Linked DNA regions of Homo sapiens: regions 2, 3 and 4 are each linked to region 1. The links are contacts of gene promoters, found by promoter capture Hi-C in blood cells and fetal thymus (Javierre and others, 2016). All regions are on one chromosome and are shown on one strand. The core of a region is centred on a gene start or on the middle of the fragment in contact, and the rest is flanking DNA. Distances in the headings are between cores, read along the strand shown.

Region 1 (3,720 bases), core at 743-3,242:
GTTGGCAAATTAAGGAGGGAGTCGTCAATGGTGTCAAAGCACTGAAGTTCAAGGAAGATGAGAACAGAAAAATACCATTGGGGTTAGTGATACAAAAGCCGCTTGTGATCTTAGAACTGTTTTGTGAAGCGGAACAGGTGGATACCAATCTCAGAACATCTGACAAGGGGCCAATTAATATTAACTTCTAGCCACCTTTTACTTTACACCTTTTACTTTATACAGTAGCATTATCTACACTTATTTCTAGCTCAACTATACGGACTCTCTAGTTCAACTATATGGAGAAATAATTTACATAGTGCAAGTAATTCCACTGGCCATTCCACTCCATTAATTTATGTGAGCAACAGTGTTAAGTAATTTAAGACGAGAGACTATAAATCTGCTTTTCCCTCAGTTAGTCTTTAAGTCTCTCTTAGCACTAGCACTTTGCTATGTTGAGTGTGATTATAGTGTTTAAAGATACAGTATGTATTTTTCATACAATATAGCCCCTCAACACAAGCCAATTTCTTCACCTGGTTTTCAAACAGAATCAGCCATCTGTTTCAACGCTGGAAAAAAGGCAGGTTGTGCTGAACTTACTGAGACAATACACTGATCTCCAACATGGTGTTCTTCTAAGAGACTTTCCAGGGTAATTCTGATAATATGCATCTTTTGTCTGAGGTATTGACTAGTTCAAGATGACACACTGTAGAGAGACCGCCTATGGATTTACTTGGTTGAGGGACTTCCAGCCAAGACAGACTGTACCCTAGAGATCTGGCATTTTTCCTGCTTAATTCTCTATCCTCCTAGATTCTGGTGGCAGCCTAAACCTTTGGTAACTACCTGACCCTGCCTTATTTACTCTGAACTTAATCTTTTACCTGCCCACTTTGCAGGTCTGCTGCTTCTAAAATTCTTATTTACTGGAAAAACGCCAAACAGTAGACACTTCCAAGGAAAACTCAATTAACTGTACTTACTAAATCGTTTTTAGTAATCAATTATATTTTAAAAATAATTTATGTCTTGACTGCACAATTAAATTCTATGCTCAAGAGAAACTACATTATCTGGGTTCATCCAGTAAAGACTACAAAAGTTGCTAAATGCCTAAGACTTACTATGCAGTAAACCAAATCTCCCATTCCTGCATAATTCCACTAAAACAGAATGCAGCTAAACAAGAGCAAAAGTATCTTCTTAGAAATACAGGTGTGTTACTGTGTCTGCAAATTAAACTCAAACAAGGTCACACACAATTGTAACAAAAAACTTCCCCAAATTACTTATGTCAGCTCCTCTTATGAGCCCACAGGCTGCAGAGAACCAATTTGGAAGCCAGGAGAATCCTGCCCTCTGCTGCTGAGTTGAGGAAATCGCCTCAACATAATTAATCGCTTTTGAGAAGGGAAGTTACACTCTGGGCAAAACACCAGTGAAAGTCAAGTGAGCAAAGTAAACGCTTTCTTGGACTCTTGACATCCGAATTTTCTCAACAGTTTAAACACGCACACCCTGGCATTCAAACATCAAGAACAGTAAATCGGGTTTCAAAACAGAAGTTTTTTTTTTTTTTTTTTTTTTTTTTTCCATTTCTCCCTAAATTAGAGAGCTATCACCTGGGGTGGTCGTATTTTAGCTAGCTTCGAGATCCGAGTGTCTGCGTGCAGTCCCGACGGGGCTGCTAGGCGCGGGGCTGCCCAGCTAGGGACAGGACGCGGCGCTCTCCACTGCCCGCGCAGCCGCGATCAGTCAAAGCCCGGGCTCCGGGGCCGGCTGCGAACGTTGGGGAGGTTGGAGAGGGACGTTTACCTGGGGCCGGTCCCCACTAGGTAGGTGTTGGTGCCTTGGAGGGTCATGGGACCCGGGTTACAGCCCAACACACGCACGACTCGATTGGACAGCCGCTCGACGCGCTGCAGTACAGCAGCCATTCCCGCCTCAGCCGCCCGCCGGCGTGTCGCCTATCTGGATACTCCAGCGCGGAAGAAGCCAACAGGCCGGGGATAGCGAGTAGCGTCCACGTGATGCCTCGCAACCCGGGAGGGAGGGGATTGGCCAGCGGCTGGTCCAGGTGTCATGTGACACCGCGGACGAGCCGGGGCGGGGATCCGGCAGCTAGGCCGGGGGGTGGGGGGGGCGGTGCGGAACTAGAGGTCACGTGACGCCGCGCGGGCTGCGCGGGCAGTGGTGGGAAGGCTGGCGCGAGGCGTGAGGTGGCGTGAGGCGAAGCTGGAATCTGCCTCTGTCACGGGGGCTGGTGCCTCACGGGTTTGTGTCCTAGACAGGCGAGTGGATCCAAGTGGGCGAGAGACATTTTAATCTGGAAGAGTCTTGTGATTTGGGAGACAGGTTTGGTAACCGTTCGTTATTCAGTAATAAATGTCAGGAAGGATTGCCAGATTTTTAGGCAGTGGCTCTGTGTGTGTGTGTGTGTGTGTGTGTGTGTGTGTAGTAGTAGTAGTAGTAGCCTGTTCATTTTTTTTTTTTTTTTTTTTGAGACGAAGTCTCGGTCTGTCGCCCAGGCTGGAGTGCAGTGGCGCGATCTCGGCTCACTGCAAGCCCCGCCTCCCGGGTTCACGCCATCCTCCTGCCTCGGCCTCCCGAGTAGCTGGGACTATAGGCGTCCGCCACCACGCCCGGCTAATTTTTTGTATTTTTAGTAGAGACCGGGTTTCATTGTGTTAGCCAGGAAGGTCTTGATCTCCTGACCTCGTGATCCGCCCGCCTCGGCCTCCCAAAGTGCTGGGATTACAGGCGTGAGCTACCACGCCGGGCCAGCCTGTTCATCTTTTATAATAAATAGTGGTAAGACATATTTACTTAGTACTTCCTACTATGCCTAAGTGCTTTCAACAAACATCCGACTTAACGCCCTTAATCCTCAGAACATTATTAAGAGGTGGACACTATTTTTGTTACAAATGAAAAACGGGGATTGGGCAGCTGCCCAGATGACAGAGTCTGCGTGTGCGGCCTTGCTCCTACCTGCCTCGCACTAACACTTGTCCCCCTCAGTGAGATTCAAGGAGCATGCCTCTGCCTGCCAGTGTTACCTGCCTGCCCAGAGAGCTAGGCTGGTCTTGTGGAGCCGTTTTGTGCCCAAGATGGAAGGGACTCATTTTCTCTGTAACAAGTCGGTTTCTTATCAGCCAAGTATTAACTATCCAGTGTTAACTACAGCTTCCCATAAAAAAAGTTGAGTTATAAATTACTTAAAAGAAAATACACAGATCCTGTAGACAGTTCCATCGAGTTATGACAATTGTATGTAATCACTGCCCCAAAGAGATGTAGAACATATCCACTGTAGCAGCCCACTCTTTTTTTTTTTAAAAAAAGGTGAGAAATTGACACATACAGTGCTTGGTGGCTTTTTTTTTTCCAGATATTTCTGATGAAGAAAACGATCTGCTCTTACCTATTTTATGAATCAGCAGCATAGTGTATCAGAGTGGCTAATGACATCTGCTTTGTGTGTGAGAAATGTCTTTGCCTTGTTTCACACAGTTGTACTTTTAATGGAAAAATATTCAAAAAATCATCGCTGAAATAATCATATAAGTTATCCCCTGTTGCAATGGGAAGTTAAACAGTATACCCTTCAAAAAATACTTAAAGTAACCAAATCTCCTACATCAGGCATTTCAATCTGTCAATATGTATTTATGATAGCCATCAATTAATGGCTATTCAGGCAGGAGGCTTTGCACATCTTCCCTTTTT
Region 2 (3,267 bases), core at 332-2,831, 1.3 Mb after region 1:
AATCCCGAACGTATTCCGCTGGAGAAACCAGATAAGTCTACCTGAGCCCCAGCAGGGTATATATACTCCGCTACCATCAAGCCTCCACCTGAAAATGTCTCCATTTAACATGGCAGTGCTGTCAATTAAGAGCCAATTTGACTTAACAAATTCAAAGAACCTACTAGTAAGTTTATACTCACAAGTTCCAATGTACTATTTGTAACTCCTCCCTGGTCTGTTCCATGCAAGAAAGCCTCTCAAAGTCCTTCACTTTTCATTCTACTGCTTTGCTTCTACTACTAATACATACAAAGGCCAAAGAAGCTGCCTCTCTAGAATTCCTCTTCCATTATAGAATCTTAGAAGTTGTGACTGTCCATTTGTGCCAGGGATCTATCTGTATCTGTGGCTAATCCAAAAACCTCAGTCCTATACTTTAATACAACATTAGAGCTGAACAATAAGGATGTCAAGTATTATAATCTAATTTCAGAACTATGATGCTACAGAAATAGTTAATTATAGAAATACTTAGAACATACTAGAAATAAATAGGACATTCTTGAAATACACATCAAAAGTCATATTACTCTTTCTTTTAGACTTATAGATGGGGTCACACACCATTCTACAAAGAGGGGAGTCTCTCCGTGAAATGACTTGAACTTATAAAGCGCATTCTGCTATGTGGTTGCCTCACCAACTCCCTTCCTGCCTGGACTATTACAGTAACCTGTGGATTGGTCTCCTTGCCTTGAGACGATGACATTTCTGGCACCTAAACCCATCAGCATCAAGTTGTTCTTTTGAAAACATAAATATGACCATGTTACATGTTTTTAAACCTTTCAATGGAATACTTTCACCTACAGGATAATGTTTAGATTTTTTAACATGGCATGCATGACGCTTCACTCTCTGGCTTCCACACATTCTCCAGAATTACTTCCTGTCACTCTCCTATGTCTATTCTTGTCTCCAACAATTCCCAACCTCTTGTGCTGTGGTCCATGGCTCTCCATGCCTCATGCCTGTGCTGTCCTGGAGCACTTCCTTCAACTGATACACAAAAAAAGTCTTGCTTATTCTTCCCTGATCTACCTGGGTTTCACCTTCACCTGTATGCAGAGTTAATGCCTTCCCGCTGTCTGTTCCCATATCAGGCTGTGTACTATTGAAATATTCATCACTCCCTTCAGGCTGTGGCTTAATGTGCCCATCTCCTTATCAGCCTTGGCAATTTAAGGACAGAGGTTTTGTTTTGTTTTTTGTTTTTTAATCTCTCTCATTTTTGTGTGTTCTCAGGAGCAGGAGAGAAGGGATGTTAATATGTTGAATTAATGTTAATCATTAAAACCATCACAACCCCAAATTTCTTTAATCCCTACTTAATCCAAATTGATTGAATTTGTACAATTTTCATGAATGTTGAATAATCTTGAGGTGAAATAATCTTATTTCACAAAATAAAAATTTGTTGAAATATCATTCAACAAAGATATTATTCTAAATATTCAAAACCGAAAGAAAGCATAGGTCATAGAGCTATTTGGTGGTCAGTTCAGAGGAAACTTTGACAGGATGATGCCAACAATGGGAAAAAAAAAGCCCCAATAACCATCCTGTCTTATAACCTACAAATAATGTTACATACAATTTTAAATTCAAATATATTTGTTAGCATGTTTGAAATCTATTTTTGTTTGTTTGTTTTCCTGGGCTCCTCAGATAGTGAATTGGACTTAGGAACAGATTTTGAAGAATAAACTAGAATCAGTCAAGTGGATGGAGGGTAAATGTCCTCTAGGGGGATAACTCACCAGAAAAAGAGGCTGAAGAGTAGGCAGCAAGGGAAGAGCTGGTGGCTCCTCATCTGTAGCACAGGGTGTTGTGAAAGTAGGAGAGAGAAGGCTGGCACGGGGTGGGGGCGGGTGCAGAGCAGGTCATGTAGGGTCATACAAACCTCACTAAATTCCAAAGACCACAGGAAGTCTCAGAAGCATTTTTCCAGGGGAGGGATGCTATCAGATTTGCAAAAAAGTAGACTTGAAAATCATTCTCAAGGTAGCACAGGTGCTGGAAGAATAATGAAAATTACTGACCTTCAAAAAGTCCTTATTCTGTGCCTGGTATTATTCCGGGCATATTACATATGTTACTGCTTTTCATTTTCACAGCAAACTAAGAGGTGAATACTAGCATGTCTTCTTTTACTAAGCTACATGCACACTAAGTAGCAACACTGAGATCCAAATCAAGGTAATCAGGCAGGAGAGTCCGTGCAATTACCCTTGCTATAGTGCCTCCCCAAAGGCAGGAGGAATTGGAGTCCGGAGGTGGATAGCTTAGTTAAAAAACAAAAGCAACAGTAGAAGGAAGAAATAATAACCTAGGGTAGTGATGAAGCAAAAAGAGAGATACAAATGTAAGAGATATTTAGAAAGTAAAATTAATTAGGTTTGATAACCCCTTAAAAATCAGGTAGAGGGTGATGTTCAATGTCTGCCTCAGACAGGTGGAGGTGCTATTTGCAAGAATAAAGAACAGAAGCAGCATCAGGTGGAGAGGGAGCTTTTGGCAATGTTTGGGATTCAATATGTGAAGCTAGTATTATAAAACAGTGTAGCAAAGTGATATATTAGGAGTTATAAATGCACAGAGGAGGAAGTGACTCATTCTGATTAAAGAAGACTCAGATAAGTTATCTGAACTTTGAAAGATGTGTAGATTTTCCCCAGTTGCAAAATGAAAGAAAGGGTATTACAGGCATATGGAATAAAATGTGCAAGTTAAGGCATCGTAGGAAAGCAGGGTAAATCCCAAGGTACCGTGAGAATCCGGGCCGGCTGCAGAGTGCATGGCAGAGAATGGGAGCTGATGCTGAAGGAAAGCAGGAGTGAAACTGGGGAAAGTTTCCACATGCTTAGGAGCTGTTCCTCTCTGCCCAGGAGCAAAATATACTCTCACAAGTCCCAGGGTCGGTCAGTGCTTGTGTGTAGTTGTACCTTTGGAAGGTTATGCCCAAGGTGACATGTGAAAGCTGCTGGCCAGGTTTAGGGAATCACAAAGAAATTGAAGGCTGAAGTTCACAGGCTGGCCAGCCCCAGAGGAAATTCTATTTTCACATGAGGATTCTGCTTTGCTCTCTAGCCTCAGAATGTGGCATGGTGGCAGCTGTCATAGTATAGCATCTTGCATAGTGTTGTGCTCCTTGACTAGGAAGATATACCCCTTGAGAGACTGGTGGACAGTGGTGGGCATTATTTCCAATCCCCTCTCCAGGTC
Region 3 (3,579 bases), core at 368-2,867, 1.0 Mb before region 1:
TTCCAATATAATGTTACCCTGCTCCTGATTTCAATTAAAATGCTTTTAGAGTTTCTCTATTAAATAAGAGGCAAGCTTTAGGACTGAGTTATATATACTTTTATCATGTTAAGGAAATAGCCATCAGTTCTTTTTTTTAGTGCTTTTATCTTTAATGAACGTTGAATTTGTCAAAAAGCTTTTTTTAGCATCTATGAAGATGCTCAGATAATTATTCTCTTTAGATCTATTAAATTATTATTGTGTATTATATTAATAGATTTGGTAAGAATGAATCCTTTCATTCCTGAAATAAATTCCACTGGGTCATTGTGTGTTGCTTTCGTAATATTGAATTCTGTTCACTAATATTTTATTTAAGATTTTTGTATCATATTTTTAAATGATACCAATCTGTGATTTCCTTTTTGTTTTTACCAGCATTATCTCTTAGATATATTAGTTTCTTATTACTGCTGTAATAAATTACCACTGTGCCTTTAAAACAACACAAATTTATTCTCTTGTGTTTCTAGGGGTCAGAAATTCGAAATGAATCTTACTGGGCTGAAATCTTCTGGGGGCTCGAGGCAAGAATGTCCTTGCTTTTCCAGTTTCTAGAGGCTGCCTGCATTCCTCATTCATGGTCTCTTCTGCCATCTTCAAATACAAAAATGTAGCCAATCTTCAAATCAGTCTCTCCCCCAACCCCCACCTTCCTCTGTTTTCTGGGGTCACATCTCGTTCTCTACCCCTCCTTCCTACCACCTCCCTTTCCCTTTATAAGGACTCTTGAGATCCCACTGGCCCCACCTGGATGCTCCAGGATACTCCCCCACCCCAATCTCAGGATCCATGACTTAGTCACATTTGCAGAGTCCCTTTGGCCAGGTAAAGGAACTTGTCCATAGTTTCCAGGAATTTGGATGTGGACATCTTTGCCGGGTGGAGTCCACTATTCTGCCTATCACAGCTATCAATGTTATCCTTGCTTCGTGAAAAGAGTTTGGAAGTTTTCTTGAGTTATCTGCTCTAGAACAGTCTATTAGTATTCTCTTTTCATTGAAGATTTGTTAAACTTCTCCTGTGAAAGTCCACAGACCTGATGCATCTTTGCACAGTGGTTCTTTGGGCTTGCTTTTTCTTCTATGGAAACTGTTCTATTTAAGCTTTCTATCTATATTGGGTTGTTAAATCAAGTTTAGCCTAAATCTGCCTCCTCACATATTTTAAGTTCAGCCTAAAGGTTTCTCTGTATATCGTGAACTATAACCTAAATAGAGTTGTATACAGACTGTAGCCTACTCTTGTGCCCATCACTGAGTTTTGGCCCTTCAAAGGTGGCCAACTGCTCAAACTCTGTTCAAATAAGGCAAACACTGAGCTGTAACCAATCTGGCTGCTTCTGTACTTCACTTTTGTTTTCTGTCCGTCGCTTTTCTTTTTCTGTCCATACATCTTCTTCCACCACGCAGCTGCGTTGGAGTCTCTCAGTCTACTCTGGCTTGGGAGGCTGCCAGATTTGCAAATCGTTCTTTGCTCAATTAAACTCTGTTAAACTTAATTCAGCTGAGGTTTTTCTTTTAACAGCATCAATTTCGGCAAACTATTTTCCTGAGCAACTACGTTTCATCCAGGTTTTCAAATTTGTTCTCACTGAGGTCTGCAAAGTAGTCTCTTGTTTTTATTTTTTTTTTAAGATGGGGTTTCCGTCTGTCACCCAGGCTGGAGTATAGTAGCAATCATGGCTCACTGCAGCCTCAGCCTCCTGGGTTCCAGTGATCCTCCCACCTCAGCCTTCTGAGTAGCTGGGATTACAGGCGTGTGCCACCACACTCAGCTAATTTTTAAATTTTTATTAGAGGTGAGTTCTTGCTATGGTGCCCAGGCTACTGTTAAACTCCTGGGCTCACGCAATCCTCCCATCTCAGCCTCCCAGAGTGCTGGGATTACAGGCATGAGCCACATCTCTTGTGTTTTTAATTTTGTGTATTTCAACGATTTTTAAAATATTTACCAGTTTATTATAAAGGATATTATAAGAAATGCAAATAAATAGCCAGACAAAGAGGTACATAGGCTAAGGTCCAGATGGGTCCCAAACGCAGAAGCTTCTGTCCTTGAGTTCGAAGTGTGCTACCTTCACGGCATGTGGTTGCATTCACCAGCTGGAAATTTCTCTGAACCCTGTTATCGTTTAAGATTTTTAATGAGGTTCCATTACATAAGCATGATTGATTGCATCATTGGCCATTGGTAGTTAACTCAATCTCCAGGCCCCTGTCCACTCCACAGAGGTCTGAGAGTCCCAACTCTCTAATCATGTGGAGGTCTTTCTGATGATCAGCCCAGCTCCCAACCTAGAGCTGTCTAGGGTACCCTAGCCATCTCCTCAGCATATAAAAGACACTCTTATCTCCCTGGAGATTGCAAGGGCGTTAGGATCTCTGTGAACTGGGGGTAGACCAAATACATTTTTCTTATTATGCCCTAGTCCCCTGGCCATGAACCCCGTAGTGAGAAGATTATAAAAGTCAAAAGATATTGGCACATTCCTAGAATTGCATTCAGCCATCAATAATTAGTCCAGTCCATCATTCTGTCATATGAAAATACCTCCTAGGGCAAGGCCACTCAGGTTTGCCAGCTTCTGTTGGATCTTGCCAGGAGTGGCTTAGCAATATATGACCTCACCCTTTTAGGAGTCTGGTATAATGGAGCTAAGAGACAATGTCATCTCCTGTTCTGAGCCTTTTTCAAGCTGTTAATGTAATATTGGATTTCTCTCATGACTCATGACGTAACCCACTTATTCATTCCTTCAGCCTCAGTTACTATTCCTCCATCTCTCCATTTATGACCAAAGTTTTCCACCTTCGGAAGAGACATTAGATTCAGCCACTGTGCTGCTCTAGGCTTCAGGCAGCAATACTAGTCTAGTATTATCACTAGACTACCAATAATAGGCTAGCAAGTACCTCTTGCTCAGTCTGCTCCCATTCAAATAGAGTAAGTTTATATAGGTGCAGAACTAATGAACTGTTTTTAACCACCAGGCAGTATACCTGCATTCACTGTTAACCCCAGTTTTGCCAGATGGGGTGAAGGCACAACCTGCCCTATCAGGCCCTTAGGAATTCTGACATCGTTTTAAAGTATAATTAGGGTTTTTTGCTTAGGAAACATCCCTGCTTCCAACACCAGCAGTTGCATCTCTGCATCACGTATAAAAAAGAAAGTTGAAGTGCTGTGCAGAAGACTTGCATCATCACACCGGCATCCTCTCCTGCCCCCTCTCCTCTTATCCTCCTGCAAAGCAGAGAAATCTGTCCAGTGGGGGACACTCCCTTAGCCCCCTTATGTTGAGTGTGAAGGTATGTAAGCCAGCCTTCAATGCTTTTGTCTCCCCACATTTTAGACAGCAAATGTTTTAACTGCCCATTCCTTCCTGTTCTTATGGAACTGTTACTCTAAGGATAATGTGCACCATTATACGTCCATTTGATGTGAGCTATCTTTGCTCACTTTTGGACATTATGGGCTATAAAATGTGTCCTTTCATCTGAAGAAATGTAACTTGGTGGTCCAAATTAGTACAGT
Region 4 (3,705 bases), core at 780-3,279, 1.2 Mb after region 1:
ACCAGCCTGAGCAATATAGTGAGAAGCTTGTCTCTACAAAAAATAAAAATAAACAACTAGCGTGGTGGCTCATGCCTGTTGTCCCAGCTACTCAGGAGGCTGAGGTGGGAGGATCGCTGGAGCCCAGGAAGTCAAGGATGCAGTGAGCCATAATAGTGCCACTGTACTCCAGCCTGGGCAACATAGGCTTAACCCTGTCTTAACAAAAAAAAAAAAAAAAAAAAAAAAAAAAAAAAAAAAAAAATCTGCAGCCTGAGGGTTTGCTGCAACTTATATATTTACCACGAGATGGCGCGCTAATGACGTCTTTTTATTACTGGGACCGGCTGCGTGGCGCTCAATTATTTTTCCTATTGAATCCTGTGGAAAGTGCTGGAGCTGCAGAGAGGTCCCCAAACAGCAGAAACAATGAGCGTGTAAGTACTTAATATAGTGGGGAAATACCCATTGACATATATTTACCGCCCTTGAATTTGGGTTTCAAAGGACTCATTTTTTTGAACTTGGTTACATCATGAAATTCACCTAACATAAAAATTAGCTCTTAAACACAGCTGATGTCAATGGGTAACTTTTCCCGGGGAAGCAGATGCTGCCCGGGTTGTGTGCAGAGCGCCATCCTGGAGGAGCCGGGCTGCAGGGAGCTCCTTGAGGAGCCACATCCAGACCTCTAGCACTGAGTTATCTTTGCCTCCGCTTACCTTCTTGTATCTGCAACAAACCTTTTTAACGTATTCACTCTTGCTTTTCTCAGTTTTTGATAATCAGCCACCTTGCTGTAGTAAAGGATCACACTGTGGAATGCTAAAAAAAAATTGCCATTTTAAAGTAGACAATTTACTGGCATTTAGCATATTCCCAATGTCACGAAATCACCATTTCTATAAGTTTCAAAATATTGTCACCATTCCAAACTAAAACCCCTTAGCTATTAAACAGTTTCTATGTTCCCTCCTTGAACTGGCAACAACTAATCTGTTTTTGTCCCAAAGGATTGATCTATTCTGAATATTTTATATAAATGGAATCATACAATGTGTGACCTTGTGTGTCTACCTGCTTTCACTTAGCATAATATTTTCAAGGTTCATCCATGTTGTAGCACGTGTCAGTGTTTCCTTCCTTTTTATGGTGAGAACTTCCAGTGCAGTGTTGAATAGTCATGGTGAAAACAGGCATCCTTGTCTTGTTCCTGACCTTATGGGGGAAAGCTTTCAGTCTTTCATATTGGGTTTGATGTTAGCATAAAGGCGTCTTATGGTGCTGGGGAAGTTGCCTTCTCCTGGTTTTCTGTTTTGTTTTGTTTTGTTTTTTATCGTGAAAGAGTGTGGGATTTTGTTAAATGCTTTTCTATGTCGATGAAGATGATTGTGTGAGTTTTCCCCTTCATTCTATAATGTGTATTACATTGACTGATTTTCTTATGCCACACCATTCTTGCATTTTGGGGCATATAGTACTTTTAATAACTTTTCTTTAAAAATGAAGATGTGTGTAAAGTATTGCACAAATATAGATGAGGTAGAATTAATTCTGCAGGTTAAGGCAGAGGGAGTGGGAAGGGTTTAGGGGAGGAAGACAAAGAGAAGTCAGCCAGTAAAAGACAGACCAGAAATGACCTTAAATGACAAGGGGATTTTTTTTTAAAAAGCCAAACTTTCAAGCAGCATCTTTCTCTAATCCAAGACAGATGAGAAGCCAGTTTCCAAAAATCCAGTTTCATTTTCCTTATCTTTAAAATGATTAGATTATTTTGATTTTTATTGTCATTGCTATAATTATAGTTTCTTATCCTGTTTATTTCATAAAATTTTCCTAGGTATTGCATAATTTGGGGCCATAATTTTACATTGTTGCACAACAGTCCCGGTTAGGTAATTACAGTAACCATATAGTCTTTGTTTTTTATTATCTTTAGAATGCCATGATAAACCAAAGTAGATTACTTATGAGATACCTTCTAGCTCTAAAGTTTTGTGGCTTTATGATTCTACGAAATCTGTACCACAGATTCTTCCCTAACTGCGCAAATTCTACATCACAAATCCTAGACGGTTAGAAAACCTCTCTCTGGCAATTTCATTAAATCTACTGTACTTCTTATATGTTTCAATTCACACATGTTTTCTCTTTTTCTGTCTTTGGTGAAGATGGAAAAAAGTGGATCACTTGTTGTTGGTGGGAAATTGTTTGTTCCTATAACTCACTTAAGCAAGTATCTATTAAGGTCAAACAAAAATGATCAGCTCTTCTAGGCAGACTGGGGCTTCTCCTCGGTCATGGCATTTCTTGGCTCCCCTACCTCAGTTTCTCCCAGGAGCAGTTCTTTGTTCATCTTCAGATTGGCCACTCCCTGCCTCCACTGCTGGGCTCTCCAGGAGTATGTAATTTTGTGAGCTAAAAATCCTAAGTGAGAATAGATCTATTTTCTTTTTAGTTCAGCACATATAAATTGGGTGTTTTTCAAATCATCTTCATTATAAAATAAAGAGGAAAGCAAACCCAAAAAGAAACAAATATGTTTATAGACAAGTGCCACTCCCTGGGTTGCATTGGTGGGCACCGCCAAGGAAGCAGACAGCCTTGACTCCTTTCTGCGCTTTCGTCCCGTGTCAAGCCCTCGGAAGGAGGTATAGCTCTATGGCTCATCCGTTGTTCCGAGTTAACTCCTAAAGTTCAGTTAGTCTCATCGGTGGGCACCATCTTCCCACCAGCTTCCTTTCACCCCAGCAGACAACTTTTGGGGAGGCTCAGGGAATGGTTTTGGGTTCAGATTCTTAGCTAGAGAGAAATAGATTTAAACTCTGATTCCACCAGTTATTCCCTGTGTGGCCCTTGGAAGGTTATTGAAGCTTTGAGAGCCTGTTTTCCCACCCATAAATCAAGACTATCACAGGCCTATTCATGGGCCTGATCAGAGGCATTAAAGGGCTGATATCTGTAAAGCGTATAGCATGGTGCTTAGCGTGTTTACAGTATGAATTTGCCTCTTCCAATTTTAAAGCTTTACATTTTAAAGTACTTTACTGAACTCAGTCAATACTCTTCTTTTTCTGTCTGAGGGCTCCCTAGCACCATCAGATTATGTACAGCAGAAATAGTAGTGTCAAATGGTAGTGACTAATTAGACATACTTTCTTAGTTGTCTGTGATGACTACATATCTCGGGTGGTTCCAGGGTATGGACTTTCCCAAATCAAATCACCCTCGTTTTACAAGTGAGAAGGAATTTAAACTAAAGAGTAGCAATAACTATTTTCTATCAAGAGAAATTTATTAAATATTTATTGATCATCTGCTTTGTACCAGACAGATGGAGGTTGTAATTTCATAAGACACAAAATGAAAAATGATGATTCCTGCTCTGAAGATATTTAGAATCCAATGAAAGAAAAAAGGCATGCTCACATGCGATCAAGGCAAGGGCCCTGTTTCCAAGCTTTGTGTCTCTGAGCTGCACAAACCCCTTCTCTCTTTAAGCTTTCAGTTATGATTTTACCCCCTCTGAAAGAATCTAAGTCCCCAGAGTAAGACCAAATTTGATAAGAATCTGTATGGGCCAATGGATGGTAGAGTTCCCAAATGAATGGCAAAGTTTCTCAATTCTGTACTGTTTCAAACTTGCCCTTTTAAATTTTAGTGATAAATCATGACTCATGATGACTTTGCTATTCACTGTCTGGCCCGAATTAGAAACCTTGTAGT

The links. Contacts are between HindIII fragments. The CHiCAGO score rates a contact against its expected background, and 5 or more counts as called.
Region 2: a fragment that was not itself captured here is called in contact with the fragment with the promoter of LACTB2 in region 1 in 1 of 17 cell types (M2 macrophages); the score reaches 6.4 in M2 macrophages.
Region 3: a fragment that was not itself captured here is called in contact with the fragment with the promoter of LACTB2 in region 1 in 1 of 17 cell types (naive B cells); the score reaches 5.3 in naive B cells.
Region 4: a fragment that was not itself captured here is called in contact with the fragment with the promoter of LACTB2 in region 1 in 3 of 17 cell types (M1 macrophages, M2 macrophages and M0 macrophages); the score reaches 5.4 in M1 macrophages.

What each region holds. Positions count from the first base shown.
Region 1 is chr8:70,667,193-70,670,912 of GRCh38, forward strand. It overlaps LACTB2 (lactamase beta 2), which reads right to left and starts at 1,993. Exons shown (of 7, transcript NM_016027.3): 1 at 1,807-1,993. The coding sequence starts at 1,928. It overlaps XKR9 (XK related 9), which reads left to right and starts at 2,147. Exons shown (of 5, transcript NM_001011720.2): 1 at 2,147-2,346. The HindIII fragment of the contact is 8,354 bases long and covers 1-3,720 here.
Region 2 is chr8:71,966,158-71,969,424 of GRCh38, forward strand. The region is part of intron 4 of MSC-AS1 (MSC antisense RNA 1); the gene reads left to right. Among named protein-coding and RNA genes, the nearest start is that of TRPA1, 110 kb to the right of the region's middle. The HindIII fragment of the contact is 5,269 bases long and covers 1-3,267 here.
Region 3 is chr8:69,651,414-69,654,992 of GRCh38, forward strand. The region is part of intron 22 of SULF1 (sulfatase 1); the gene reads left to right. Among named protein-coding and RNA genes, the nearest start is that of SULF1, 160 kb to the left of the region's middle. The HindIII fragment of the contact is 942 bases long and covers 1,147-2,088 here.
Region 4 is chr8:71,827,800-71,831,504 of GRCh38, forward strand. No RefSeq gene overlaps it. Among named protein-coding and RNA genes, the nearest start is that of MSC-AS1, 13 kb to the right of the region's middle. RefSeq lists enhancers at 2,742-3,705, 3,518-3,697. The HindIII fragment of the contact is 1,641 bases long and covers 1,210-2,850 here.